5 separate regions of the Homo sapiens genome follow, and all the other regions are linked to region 1. The links are contacts of gene promoters, found by promoter capture Hi-C in blood cells and fetal thymus (Javierre and others, 2016). All regions are on one chromosome and are shown on one strand. The core of a region is centred on a gene start or on the middle of the fragment in contact, and the rest is flanking DNA. Distances in the headings are between cores, read along the strand shown.

Region 1 (2,512 bases), core at 8-2,507:
GAAAACAGATTAAGGGACTTTGGACCTATACCTTATGCATAAATGTTACTGCACTACGATCATTTATTCTTGTAACCCCAGCACTTTGTAGAGTGCTTTGCATATAACAGATACACCACAAATATTTCCTAAGTGAGGAAACAAGGCTAAGAAATTAGTTAAGAAGGGAAAATGGTCAGTGCCTTGGAAATGACCATGGCTCCCAACTTGCAGGTCAGGCCTCTAACCCCTGAATGCCACTTCCTTCGTTGACTTTGAAGGCCCTATAAATAGTTGCTGTTGATTGAGGGCAAGAAACATAGCTGCTGTCTTCACTAGGAATAAAAATAGTTCAGTGGTCTTACACTGATGGACCCACACATAATTTTAGCCCAGGAATACAAAGCATAGCAGGCAAATTCATACCTCGGACCACATGGGCAGTGTCATAGGACCCTGTGAGCTTGGGAGCCTTTGGGTCTGACCTGCTACATGCAGTGACCTTTCTAGCCTCACAATTTTCTTATCTGTAAAATAGCAACCAAAGTAGCCCCTAAGGGCTTCCCAGGTGGGTCTCTACCAAGACAGCTCATGGGAGGGACGGTAGCTGTCGCCCCACACTGCAGAGTCCTGCGTAAACTTCAGGAGCTTCTTCACTCCTGTCTACTGTTCTCATTCAGTGTAGTCTGTCCAAACCCCCCACACCTCTTCTCGTCCAAAAAAAGCAGAGTCAATGCAAAAAGAGGCAGTTTGGACCCGGGCACGGAGGCGGCTCATTCTCATCCTGAACAATGGCCAAAGAATTCTGTGAAAAGTAGCCGTAGCAACAGTTAGGTCCCCTGAATCTTAAGGAGCACGGGGTGGCAATGGGGTGGTAATCACTGGCTAGCAAGGACTAGATTCAAATAGCAAACTCTTAATTGCAAGGTCTCAGGTCACAAGAGGGCCAGACCTGGGAAGGAGAATGAGTTACATGAGAGGGTAGTTCCACGCGTTCCCTGGGGGCGGTCCCTCCTTACCTGGTAACACAGGATGGTTTGCTGCACCAGCCGCGCGTACCCGTCCAAGCGGACCCCGGAATTGCTCCTGCTCCGCATCTCCCCGAGGCTCCCAGGCCGCAGCGCCCGATCTGCCGCGTGGGCGCGGGACGTCGGGGCTGTGGCCTCCAAGCGGGTCTGGTTCCCGGACACTCACAGCCTTAGTCGGTTCTTGGGATGGGACCGGGCCGGAGGAGGTCGAGACTTTTCTAAACGCTAGCCCCAAAGTCCGGTTGGAAAGCAAGCCAACCAGAGCTCCGCGCGGCGGGGAGGCGCGGGGGCGGGGACGGGGGCTGGAGCGACGAAGGTCCCGCCTCGGCCAGGCCTGCTGGGCTCCCGACGCTCGCGGGAGCAGCGGGAAACCAGGTTCCGGGAGTGGGGCGAGGACGCCCCTGCCAAGCCCCTTTTACGTCCCGGCGGTCGCGAGGAGGTCCCCCGGGCGCGAAGAAGACGCCAGCCCACCCCAGCCGCCGGGGAGATCGCCCAGGCCGCGCTCAGCCCCGCCCCTGGCTCTGCCCCCGCCGCGGAGCGGAACCCTCCAAGTCGCGGCCTGAGGAGGAAGGAAAAGGGGGCGGCCCGGGAGAGCCGCTGCGAAATCAGCAACGGGCGGGAACCAGGTTGCCTCCCTGAGTCCCTTCTCTCCCCGGCCGGCTGCCAACCACAGCCAAGGCCAGAGAAACAGGCCCTTCTGCCGCGGCCACCTGGGCGCCTTGGACCCGCCCTCCGGACTCGCCCCCGCCCCTGCCGCGGAGTGGAACGTTTGGAACCCTGAGGGGCACAGGTAAGGGGGCGGCCCCGCCCCGCGCCCTGGAACGACCTCACGGCCCCGCCCACATCCCCGCCCCTGGCCCCACCTCCGCCGCAGAGCGGAACCCTCAGAGTCGCGGCCTCGGGGGGGACGAAAAAGGAGGCGGCCCGTGGGAGTCTAGGGGAACCCGGCTTCGGGCGGCGGACGAGTTGGCTTTCCTGCGTGGTAGTGTGGAGCCCCCCGAGACGGGTGCCAGTCCCACTCGAGGCCGGAGAAAGAGGGCCGCCTACCGCGGCCGCCTGGGCACCCCTCTGAGGGCCAAGATTGTAGTCCCACCTCTGGCCCCGTCTCCGCCGCCTAGCGGAACTGGAGTAGCGGGACCCAGCCCGGAAGAAAAAGGGGGAAGGCCCGGAGAGGTGCCCCAGCGACACCTCTGGCGCCTGTGACCCCGCCCCTAGCCACTTGGGCGCCGCTTCCTCGGGCAGGTTCGCAGTTCATCTCCCACGGGTCTACAGCTTGAAACTTGGCATTCATTATAATGTTTCGTGGCTGCTGATAACCTACAGTTCACAATCTTCGGCCTGGTATTCATTGTCCACCAAAATCTGGCCCACATAGGAATTTACTGGACAGCTAGACTAATGCAATCAATTTCCGCAAGCTCTTTTCCAGTCTCCATGCATTTACTCTATGCTTGACCCCTTCGGCCCTTCTTCCTCCTCCTTGACTAACTGAAGCCTATCTTTCC
Region 2 (2,512 bases), core at 10-2,509, 640 kb before region 1:
ACAAAACGGATCCATGAGGGCAGGAGAAAACAAAAGTTATGTTCCCAGAGATTCAATGATAATGGTGTTGGCAGTGGTGATACTACTACTCAGATCTGTTACTTACTGAGCTCTTGCTATTAATGAATGCCTGGTACCCTACCCTAAGGCTTTTATATATGTATTTTTTCTTATCTAAAGCTTATTACAAGCCTGCATAGTAGATACTGTTATTAATGTCCATTAATGTTCATTTGAAAGTTAAGGATATTGAGGCTCAAAGACCTGCCCAAGATCACCCAGCTAGGTTTGAATCTAGGTTCATGAATGCTTAACCATTGTGCTAAAACTGCCTTTGTTGTGTTTAACTGTGTAAGTGCCTTTTCTCCCGTGCTAGACAATAAGCTCCTGGGGGCAGTATCACATCTCGTTCTTCTTTATATCCTTCAGAATAACGAGCACAGTGTCTATCACATACTAGGGTCCCCAAAATGTTTGCTGAATGAGTAAACTCTGCTGTGCTATAGGCTGCTTGTATCTAAACTATATAGAACCAGAATACTGTGGTTTTTAAAAACAATTTTTTTTTTGAAACAGGGTCTCTCTGTCACCCAGGCTGGAGTGCAGTGGAGTGATCATAGCTCGCTACAACCTCAACCTCCCCGGGCTCAGGTGATCCTCCCACCTCACCCTCCCTAGTAGCTGGGACTACAGGCACACACCACCATACCTGGCTAATTTTTGTATTTTTTGTAGTGACAGAGTTTTTCCATGTTGCCCAGGCTGGTCTCAAACTCCTGGGCTCAATGAATCCTCTTGCCTCAGCCTCTCAAAGTGCTGGAATTAGAGGTGTAAGCCACCACACATGGACTAAAACAATTTTTTGATAAAATTTTTCTTTTATTCTTTGTTTTGAGACAGGGTCTCACTCTGTTGCCCAGGCTGGAGTTCAGTGGCATAATCAGGGCTCACTGCAGCCTGACCTCCCGGCCTTAAGTGATTGTCCTGCCTCAGCACACCCCCTGCACACCCCCTACCCCCGACACACACACACACAAAGTAGCTGGGACTATAGGCATGTGCCAACAAGCTCAGCAACTAATTTTTTTTTTTTTTTTAATTTTAGTAGAGACGATGGCTCACTAAGTTGCCCATACTGGTCTCAAACTCCTGAGCTCAAATGATCCTCCTGCCTCAGCCTCCCAAAGTGCCGGGATTACAGGCTCACGTAAGCCACGGCGCTCGGCCGAGATTTTTCTTTTGGCCATCATTGTTGTTCTCTGTTCTTTCCTGCAATATCAAATCAGCTGTCTTAATTTACACACAAGTCTAAGTCAATGGGCCAAGGAGAAAATTCTGTGAGATCTGAGACAATCCCCCACCTCCAATATCTCTCTCTTTCCCAGAAGTTGATTGGCCTTTTTTTTTTACTCTGAATTTTATCTCTTTCTAGGATGTTCATGGTCTCAAAAAGTCAGGCTCCGTATGAGTTACCATTATAGAATTCAGTTTATAAATGCCAACTACATAACAGGTATAACTAAAACATGTGCTTTAAACCAATATTCACCAAAAAAAGAAACAACAAGCCAAGTCCCTATTCACAAAATAATCTATTGAAAAAAATGTTTCATCATAGCCCCTTGAGTTTATCAACAGCATAAGAAGTTTCAAGGATAAGAGAGATTCACAAATACGTTTGCTGGTGTTTTAAAGAAAATGTTGGAATAAGTGACGGAAGTTATTATACATACACAATTTACCAGAGATTAATTAAATAGCACAGGTAGAAAGGGTTCTTTTCCTTTTAAAATCTATCTTGTTATAAAGACACTACTTTTAGACTTGAACAAACAAAAACGCTGTCCTTTATTGTGAAGGGGAAGGTCTGAGTTAACTGCATAAAATAACACCTTTATGTTTTTAACTTGTAAATAGTTTATTATTTTGTTTCAAGAAGTACTTCACATTTATGCCTAAATGCAAAAAAAAATACTGATTTAATTAAAATACACTGTAGTTATGTATTTTTTCTTTGACCAAGAGAAGCTCTCTCTTTCAACTAAGATTTTGTTTCTGGTAATAGTGATTATCCTAATACAGGATAGAAAAAGTGTATATTCCATTGTATAACCATACATAATTTTGTGGAATTGAACATGAGTCATCACATTAAGATTCCACAAGTATCTATTCAATTCACTCAAGTAAATAATCAAATGTCACATTTTCTGACATAGTTATAAAAGTAATCAGAAAAACACTAAATTCTAATACTGTAATTACATTTAAAACTAAAATTCTATCTCTGAATTAAGACTAATCAATATTAAGAAAGAACAAGCCGGGTGCGGTGGCTCAAGCTTGTAATCCCAGCACTTTGGGAGGCTGAGGCGGGTGAATCACCTGAGGTCAAGAGTTTGAGACCAGACTGGCCAACATGGTAAAACCCCGTCTCTACCAAAAATACAAAAATTAGCCGGGTGTGGTGGCGGGCACCTGTAGTCCCAGCTACCTGGCAGGCTGAGACAGG
Region 3 (2,512 bases), core at 9-2,508, 600 kb before region 1:
GGATGCCTGCACAGGGAATGCCACGGGGCCAGTGCTACACTGCGCCCATCAAGTGAGTCCCAGCAGTGAGGAGAAACAAAGCAGCAAACAGGAAGCAGAAAAGTCCTTCAGTGCCCCCTATTGGCAGAGTATAACATGGAGCCGGCTGCCAAAACACAAAATGTAGGTTGCGCAGGTGCAGCTCCAGTATTACAAAGTAGGGAAAAGACTGACAATATCAGGTTCTGATAATGTGGAGCATAGGAACTGTCATATGCCTCGGGTGGGAGTGTAAATTAGTACAACTACTTTGGAAAACAATTTGGCATTATCTTTTTTAAACAACTTTTTAGGCCAGGTGCAGTGGCTCATGCCTGTAATCCCAGCACTTTGGGAGGCTGAGGCAGGCAAATCACCTGAGGTCAGGAGTTCGAGACCAGCCTGGCCAGCATATAGTGAAACCCCATCTCTGCTAAAAAATACAAAAATTAGCCGAGTGTGGTGGCACACACCTGTAGTCCCAGCTACTTGGGAAGCTGAGGCAGGAGAATTGCTTGAACCTGGGAGGCAGAGGTTGTAGTAAGCTGAGATTGCGCCACTGCATTCCAGCCTAAGTGACAGAGCAACACTCTGTCTCTAAAAAAAAAAAAAAAAAAATTTAAACAACTTTTTTGCCTGGAAGTCTCACACCCAAGTAACTGGATATGAGCTCAGTTTGGCATTATCTAATAAAGTTGAAGAGAGCATAGCCTGTGGGCAGTTCTACCCTATGTCTATGCCCCAGAGAAACATGTGTATGCACATTGTACATCAAGGTAAGTGTTTAAGAATCTTTCCAGGTGCAGTGGCTCATGCCTGTAATCCCAGCACTTTGGGAGGCCAAGGTGGGTGGATCGCTTGAGTCCAGGAGTTCGAGACCAGCCTGGGCAACATAGGGAGACTCTGTCTCTATTTTAAAAATACAAAAAATTAACTGGGTGTGGTGTCACATACCTGTAGTCCGAGCTACTCAGGAGGCTGAGGGAGGATCACCTGAGCCCAGGAGGTTGAGGCCACAATGAGCTGTGATAGCACAACTGCACTCCCACCTAGGCAACAGAACGAGACCCTGTCTCTAAAAAACAAAAAAAACTTCATAACGGCATAATTTATAATAACCCCAAATGGAAAACCCGAAGTCCATCTATAGTAAAACGCAAATTAAATTGTGGCATACTCGTTCAATAGAATGAATACTCTATAGAATGAAAATACACAACTATACATTGAGACATGGATGATACCTCAAAATCATAATGTTCAGCAAAAGGAGAGAGAGAGAGAACGAATCCAAAGGGTAAGACTCCATCCCATCCATACAATACTCAAATCCAGGATGCACACCTCAGTGTAAAACAAAAACAAACACATGTGAAAAACAAGAACTGGATTTATTATGAGTTAGGAGTTACCTCTGGGGAGGAGGTTAAGAGTCATGATCCAGGAGGTTACTTACATGTGGGGGAGTTCTGTAATATTCTGTTTTGTTGACATAGGTGACTTACATTAGATTGTTTCTTCCTTTAAAATAAAAAGTACATATGTTTAGTATGCATTTTTGTACATAGGTTATGTTTTGTAAGTTTTTGTGTGGTTTTTTTGTTTTGTTTTTTTTGAGACAGAATCTCACTCTACTGCCCAGGCTAGAGTGCAATGGCGAGATCTCAGCTCACCGCAACCTCTGCCTCTCGGGTTCAAGCAATTCTCCTGCCTCGGCCTCCCAAGTAGCTGGGATTACAGGTGGCTGCCACCACGCCAGGCTAATTTTTGTATTTTTAGTAGAGATGGGGTTTCACCATGTTAGCCAGGCTGGTCTCAAACTCCTGACCTCAGGTGATCCACCTGCCTCAGCCTCACGAAGTGCTGGGATTATAGATGTGAGATTACAGGGGTGAATCATATATCAATTTTTTAAATAAAATTTCAAAAGGAATGAATAGTATGAAAACAAATCATGTTAACTGAGTTTTAGGTAAAGATGACTACTTGTCAGAACCTAGGGGGCCGGGCATGGTGGCTCCATCTGTAATCCCAGCACTTTGGGAGGTGAAGGTGGGTGGATCACCTGAGGTCAAGGAGTTCAAGACCAGTCTGGCCAACATGGGGAAACCCTGTCTCTACTAAAAATACAAAAATTAGCTGAGCGTGGTGGTGCGTGCCTGTAATCCCAGCTACTCGGGAGGCTGAGACACAAGAATTGCTTGAACGTGGGAGGTGGAGGTTGCAGTGAGCCAAGATCACACCACTGCACTCCATCCTGGGCGACAGAGTGAGACTCTGTCTCAAAAAAAAAAAAAAAAAAGAGTAGACTATATTTGTGTGAGTCAATTTCTGAGCTCTCTATTCCATTCCATTGATCTATTTGTCTATTCTTATGCGAATACCACACTGTCTTGATTACTGTAGCTTTTTAGTAGATCTTGAAGTCAGGTAGTGTCAGTCCTCTAACACTGATCTTCAGTATTGTGGTGGCTATTCTGGGTCTTTTGCCCCT
Region 4 (2,512 bases), core at 10-2,509, 580 kb before region 1:
TTATAATATCAGCTGACACTTACTTACGGTGTGCCAGGCACCATTCTAAATCCTTCACATGTGTTAAACCACTCAATTCTCTCAACAAGCCCAAGAGGTAAGTGTGATTAGTATTCCCCATTTTGTAGATGGGTAAACTGAGGAAGGCAGCACTTAAGTAAGTTGCCCAAGGTCACACAGCTGGGAAGCGGATGAGCCAGAATTTGAATGTAAGCGGTCCGGTGCCAGAGTCCATGCTCTTAACCACTGTACTGCCTTTATACAAGCAGATGCCTGAGTCCAACCAGGATGATGGTCCTGGATCCTTCTCATTTGTCCCTGTCCTGTTTTTTTGTCTGAGTTTGGTCTCCCTCTGTGTGTTAACTCTTAGCTTTGCAAAAAAATATTGATCTTGTCTCCGGCCTTTGGAACACATGTTTGTATTTGGTCTTTCCAGTGGAGTCTCAGGTGGCCTCTGACTAGATTTGTCTCTCTGGGTCATCATAACCCACATTGCTCCAACCAGCATCCTGGGTCCGACTGCAGACACTCTTACTCTGAAACCGGCTTGCTCTCCTTTGATTCCAGCCTCCCAAGGCCCTATCCTTGACCTCCCATCTCTGGGGTTAGCTGGGTCGAGTAAACCCCCAGTGGGGAGGCCCAAGTGCATAGCAGCTCAGGGATCAGACCCTTGCCCCACCATGACCCCCTCTGATGGCTGATACAGGGAAGATTTGGAGACCTGGGGACTTGCTGTCCTGGCAGACACAGGTTTCAGCTGAGGCCAGGGGATGGAGGTAGGGAGACAGCAAGAAATTCGGTTTAGAATGCAGGGGAACTGGCCTCATCAGGCACCATAGGATGGCCTCAGGGATGAGGGGAGGGGGCAGGCTAAGTGAAGTGGGGTCAGGAATGAAAGCACAAGTGGTGACAGTGGGAAGGAAAAGCCGAGCCAGAGAGCCCCATTGCTAAGGAAAGCTGCGGTGATCGCGAGAGCCCTCTGCCCGCTGGAGTCCTGCTTGGGTGTGAGAGGGACCTGGGGTTCACTGTTCAGTCGCTTCTGCTGGACACAAGCCTTTTAGTCTCTCAAACAGAGGTTGTAACTCTTGTGAGTCCTGGCCTCTGAAAATCTGGTGAAAAACATGGACCATCCCCTAAGACAGTCGTAGGAGTGCACACAACCAATCCACATTCTGCATGTAATGTGGGTGAGCCATAGCTCCCTCTGGAAATAAACCCTGGATCTCAGGGTAAGAATTCCTGCTCTAGAACTTTTAACATCACCCCCATTCTTTTTTTGTTTTGTTTTGTTTGTTTTTGAGACAGAGTGTCACTCTGTCGCCCATACTGGAGTGCGGTGGTGCGATTTCCGCTCACTGCAACCTCTGCCTCCCGGGTTCAAGTGATTCTCTTGCCTCAGCCTCCCTAGTAGCTGCGATTACAGGTGCGCACCACCACGCCTGGCTAATTTTTGTATTCTTAGTAGAGACAGGGTTTTGCCATGTTGGCCAGGCTGGTCTTGAACTCCTGGCCTCCAGTGATCCACCCACCTCAGCCTCCCAAAGTGCTGGGATTACAGCCATGAGCCACCACACCCAGCCTCAGGTAGTTCTTTATAGCAACGCAAGAACAGACTAATACACAAAGTGATGCATCTACAAGCCAAGTAATGCCAAGGATTGCCAGCAAACCACCAGAAGCTGAGGAAGAGGCTCTCACAGCCCTCAGAAGGAGCCAACCCTGCGGACACCTTGTTCTCACACTTCTGGCCTCCAGAACTTCGAGATAATAAATGTCTGTTATTAAACTGCCCAGATTGTGGCACTTTGTTGCAACAGACTGAGCAGATGAATACAGTGGAGGAGCGCCTGTGGTTCTTGTTTGGGCACAGAGCTGTGAGTGCATACACTGGCTACTGCATCATACGAGGAAATGGAGAGAAGGCAGGAGGGAGGGAACATGAAGTACACTGAGGCCCAGGTCTAGAGGCCAGCTGGTTGTGGGCTAAAGGCGGCAGCAGACAGATTTGCTTGGTTTTAGGATTGAGCAGGTGTCAGAGCTGGGAAGTGCTGAGAAATGAGGTCACAGAGTGAAACAGGCAACAGCTCAAAGAAAATCAGATGAGGGCGGGGTGTGGTGGCTCACACCTGTAATCCCAGTACTTTGGGAGGCCGAGATGGGGTGGATCACTTGAGCTCAGGAATTTGAGACCAGCCTGGGCAACATGGTGAAACCCCGTCTCTACTAAAAGCATAAAAAGTAGCCAGGTATAGGTGGCTCATGCCTGTAATCCCAGCTACTAGGGAGGCTGAGGCACAAGAATTGCTGGAACCCAGGAGGCGGAGATTACAGTGAGTCAAGATTGCACCACTACACTCCAGCCTGGGTGACAGAGCGAGACCCTGTTTCAAGGAAAAGAAAAGAAAATCAGATGAGGTTTAGGTGGATTTGGTCATGGAAAGAAAGGCCTTGGGGCGAGGGAGGCTTGGATGCCACGAGTAATCTCTTCAGCCCTCACCTCCGTACAAACAAC
Region 5 (2,512 bases), core at 8-2,507, 540 kb before region 1:
CATTGTAGGTTCTTCTGTAGCATACGATGCTGTTTGATAGCGTTTTACCCACATTAGAACTATTTCTCCAAGCCTGCTGCTGCTTTATCAACTAAGTTTATAGAGTAGTGTATTTTTGAAATAGTCATTTCAAAAATGTTTAAGGCATCTTTACCAGTAGATTTCATCTCAGAAAAACAGTTCCTTTGTTCTTCCATAAGCAGCAACTCCTTTGTCCATTCATGTTTTATCATGAGATCACAGCAATTCAGTCATATCTTCAGGCTCCTCTTGCCTTGGCCTCCCAAAGTGGTAGGATTGTAGGTGTGAACCACTGCACCTGGCCATATCATTTTTTTGTGTGTGTTTTGGGTTTTTTTAGACGGAGTTTTGCTCTTGTTGCCCAGACTGTAGCACAATGGCACTATCTTGGCTCACTGCAACCTCTGCCTCCCGGGTTCAAGCAATTCTCCTGCCTCAGCCTCCCAAGTAGCTGAGATTACAGGCATGTGCCACCACACCTAGGTAATTTTGTATTTTTAGTAGAGACGGCGTTTCACTGTGTTGGTCAGGCTGGTCTCGAACTCCTGACCTCAGGTGATCCACCCACTTCAGCCTCCATATAATCTTTGTGTCTTTAAATGGGTATGTCTTTCCTTCTGCTAGGCCGTTAGTGCTGGTATTTGAGTTAATCTAGTTAGGAATTGGTGTAGCCAAGTCCAAGGTTGTACTACTCACCAAATGACAGCCAATAAGTTAAGAGACAAGGTGTTGGCGCAAAGAAAGCAACCTTATTTGGAGAGCCAGCAACCTGAGAAGATGGTGGACTAGTAATGTCCGAAAGAACCATCTTAATATGAATTTTCGCCTCCTTTTATGTTAGAGGAAGAGGGAAGAGGGAGGAGGTTGAGGTCAAGAGATGACTATGATGACCACAGACATCTAGGTGGCAGTGAGGGTCTGTGGAGGTTGTGAAACTTCTTTGTCCTTGGTCAGGTCACAATACTATAAATCTTTAACATGGCTGGGCATGGTGGCTCACTCCTGTAATCCTAGCACTTTGGGAAGCCGAGTCAGGCAGATAACTTGAGTCTAGGAGTTCAAGACCAGCCTGGGCAACATGGTGAAACACCGTCTCTATCAAAAATACAAAAATTAGCTGGGTGTGGTGGCACACACCTGTAGTCCCGCTACTCAGGAGGCTGAGGTGGGAGGATCACCTGAGCCCAGGAGGTCGAGGCTGCAGTGAGCCATGATTGCACCACTGCACTCTAGCCTGGGTGACAGAGTGAGACCCTGTCTCAAAAAAAAAAATCATTAACAACGTTGTTACTTGTGTGTACACTGCCCCTATCTCTTCAGGGGTTTTCAGAAGGGACTATTTGCTTTAAACTATAAACTGAATTTCTCCCATAGTTAGATGGTTTCACTGGGTGGTGGTGGGGGGGCTTAGAAGCAAAATGATGTTAGTCATGCTAGGCTTCCTTTTCACTGTTACATTGGGCTGGATTTGAGTTTTTTTGTGTTGTTATGGTTAACCTAGTGTACCCCAGTTTTCAAATTCTCTTAGAGATACTTTGTGATCAGGGTGGGAATTGGTTTACCAGAACAGTGTCTGTTCCAGTCTAAATTTCAGGTCTCCCCTTCGAAGTGTGCTTTAGTGAGGGTCTCTTTACATACTCTTGATTTTCTCCCGTCCCTTTCTCAGTGATATTCTGCTCTTACTGTTCCTGGAAGTTTGTTTGCTTGGAGGTGGGGAGGGGTGATAGGATGTGGTCTCTGTTCTTGATTAAGCCTCAGTTTCAGGCCTGACTCTCAGGATCTTGCCCCTTCCCTGGCTGTTGTATTGGGCTCAATGTGGAATCCTACCCCTCTCCCAGGACTTGGGCCCCCACCCCTCCTCCCTGCTGCTCTGATTTTTCACTATTGTCTTAAGGGTAGAAGTAACCATTGTCCTTTCTGTCACAGTGAAGGCTTGTCTTCCTGAGTGGAGATAGGGGAGAGTGATCTGAGGGTAGTGTCCAGCCTCTCAGGCTTAGCTGCTGCCCACCCCCAGGTTTGCATCACAATGAGCCTACCTCAGGACTCTTTAGAGCTCTGAGTGAGTGGGGTGGGGGAGTTGGAGGAGGAAGACCCTACAGGAAGTTGAGGTATCATATCCTCAATTTCTGTGACCCCCAGTGGTTTCACACTATCTTTTCAGCAAGCCACATTGGATTTCACGCATTTACTGACTCTTCTACCCGTTCTTTTTGGTGTCCAGCTGTACTCTCCAACAGGCGAGCACATGGTCGTCTCCTCTCTCCCTTCAGGTACTCTCCTTAGTTTTTGAGCCAACTGGTTGCTCTGTTGGTTTTTTTGTTTTGTTTTGTTTTGTTTTGTTTTGTTTTGTTTTGTTTTGAGGCGGAGTTTCGCTCTTTCGCCCAGGCTGAAGTGCTGTGGCGCGATCTCGGCTCACTGCAAGCTCCGCCTCCCGGGTTCACGCCATTCTCCTGCCTCAGCCTCCCGAGTAGCTGGGACTACAGGTGCCCGC

The links. Contacts are between HindIII fragments. The CHiCAGO score rates a contact against its expected background, and 5 or more counts as called.
Region 2: a contact is called between a fragment that was not itself captured here and the fragment with the promoter of PHKA2 in region 1, in 1 of 17 cell types (naive B cells). The highest score is 5.1, in naive B cells.
Region 3: a fragment that was not itself captured here is called in contact with the fragment with the promoter of PHKA2 in region 1 in 1 of 17 cell types (naive CD8 T cells); the score reaches 5.1 in naive CD8 T cells.
Region 4: a fragment that was not itself captured here is called in contact with the fragment with the promoter of PHKA2 in region 1 in 6 of 17 cell types (M1 macrophages, naive CD8 T cells, monocytes and 3 more); the score reaches 7.3 in M1 macrophages.
Region 5: a fragment that was not itself captured here is called in contact with the fragment with the promoter of PHKA2 in region 1 in 4 of 17 cell types (neutrophils, total CD8 T cells, total B cells and 1 more); the score reaches 6.1 in neutrophils.

What each region holds. Positions count from the first base shown.
Region 1 is chrX:18,982,857-18,985,368 of GRCh38, forward strand. PHKA2 (phosphorylase kinase regulatory subunit alpha 2) reads right to left here and starts at 1,258. Exons shown (of 33, transcript NM_000292.3): 1 at 999-1,258. The coding sequence starts at 1,076. RefSeq lists enhancers at 1,060-1,560, 1,561-2,061, 2,043-2,092 and a silencer at 1,253-1,942. The HindIII fragment of the contact is 8,902 bases long and covers 1-2,512 here.
Region 2 is chrX:18,344,842-18,347,353 of GRCh38, forward strand. All of the region lies in intron 1 of SCML2 (Scm polycomb group protein like 2), which reads right to left. Among named protein-coding and RNA genes, the nearest start is that of SCML2, 8.6 kb to the right of the region's middle. The HindIII fragment of the contact is 2,162 bases long and covers 179-2,340 here.
Region 3 is chrX:18,377,881-18,380,392 of GRCh38, forward strand. No RefSeq gene overlaps it. Among named protein-coding and RNA genes, the nearest start is that of SCML2, 24 kb to the left of the region's middle. The HindIII fragment of the contact is 6,947 bases long and covers 1-2,512 here.
Region 4 is chrX:18,401,365-18,403,876 of GRCh38, forward strand. No RefSeq gene overlaps it. Among named protein-coding and RNA genes, the nearest start is that of CDKL5, 23 kb to the right of the region's middle. The HindIII fragment of the contact is 3,599 bases long and covers 1-2,512 here.
Region 5 is chrX:18,440,133-18,442,644 of GRCh38, forward strand. All of the region lies in intron 1 of CDKL5 (cyclin dependent kinase like 5), which reads left to right. Among named protein-coding and RNA genes, the nearest start is that of CDKL5, 16 kb to the left of the region's middle. RefSeq lists enhancers at 1,945-2,446, 2,447-2,512. The HindIII fragment of the contact is 3,075 bases long and covers 1-2,512 here.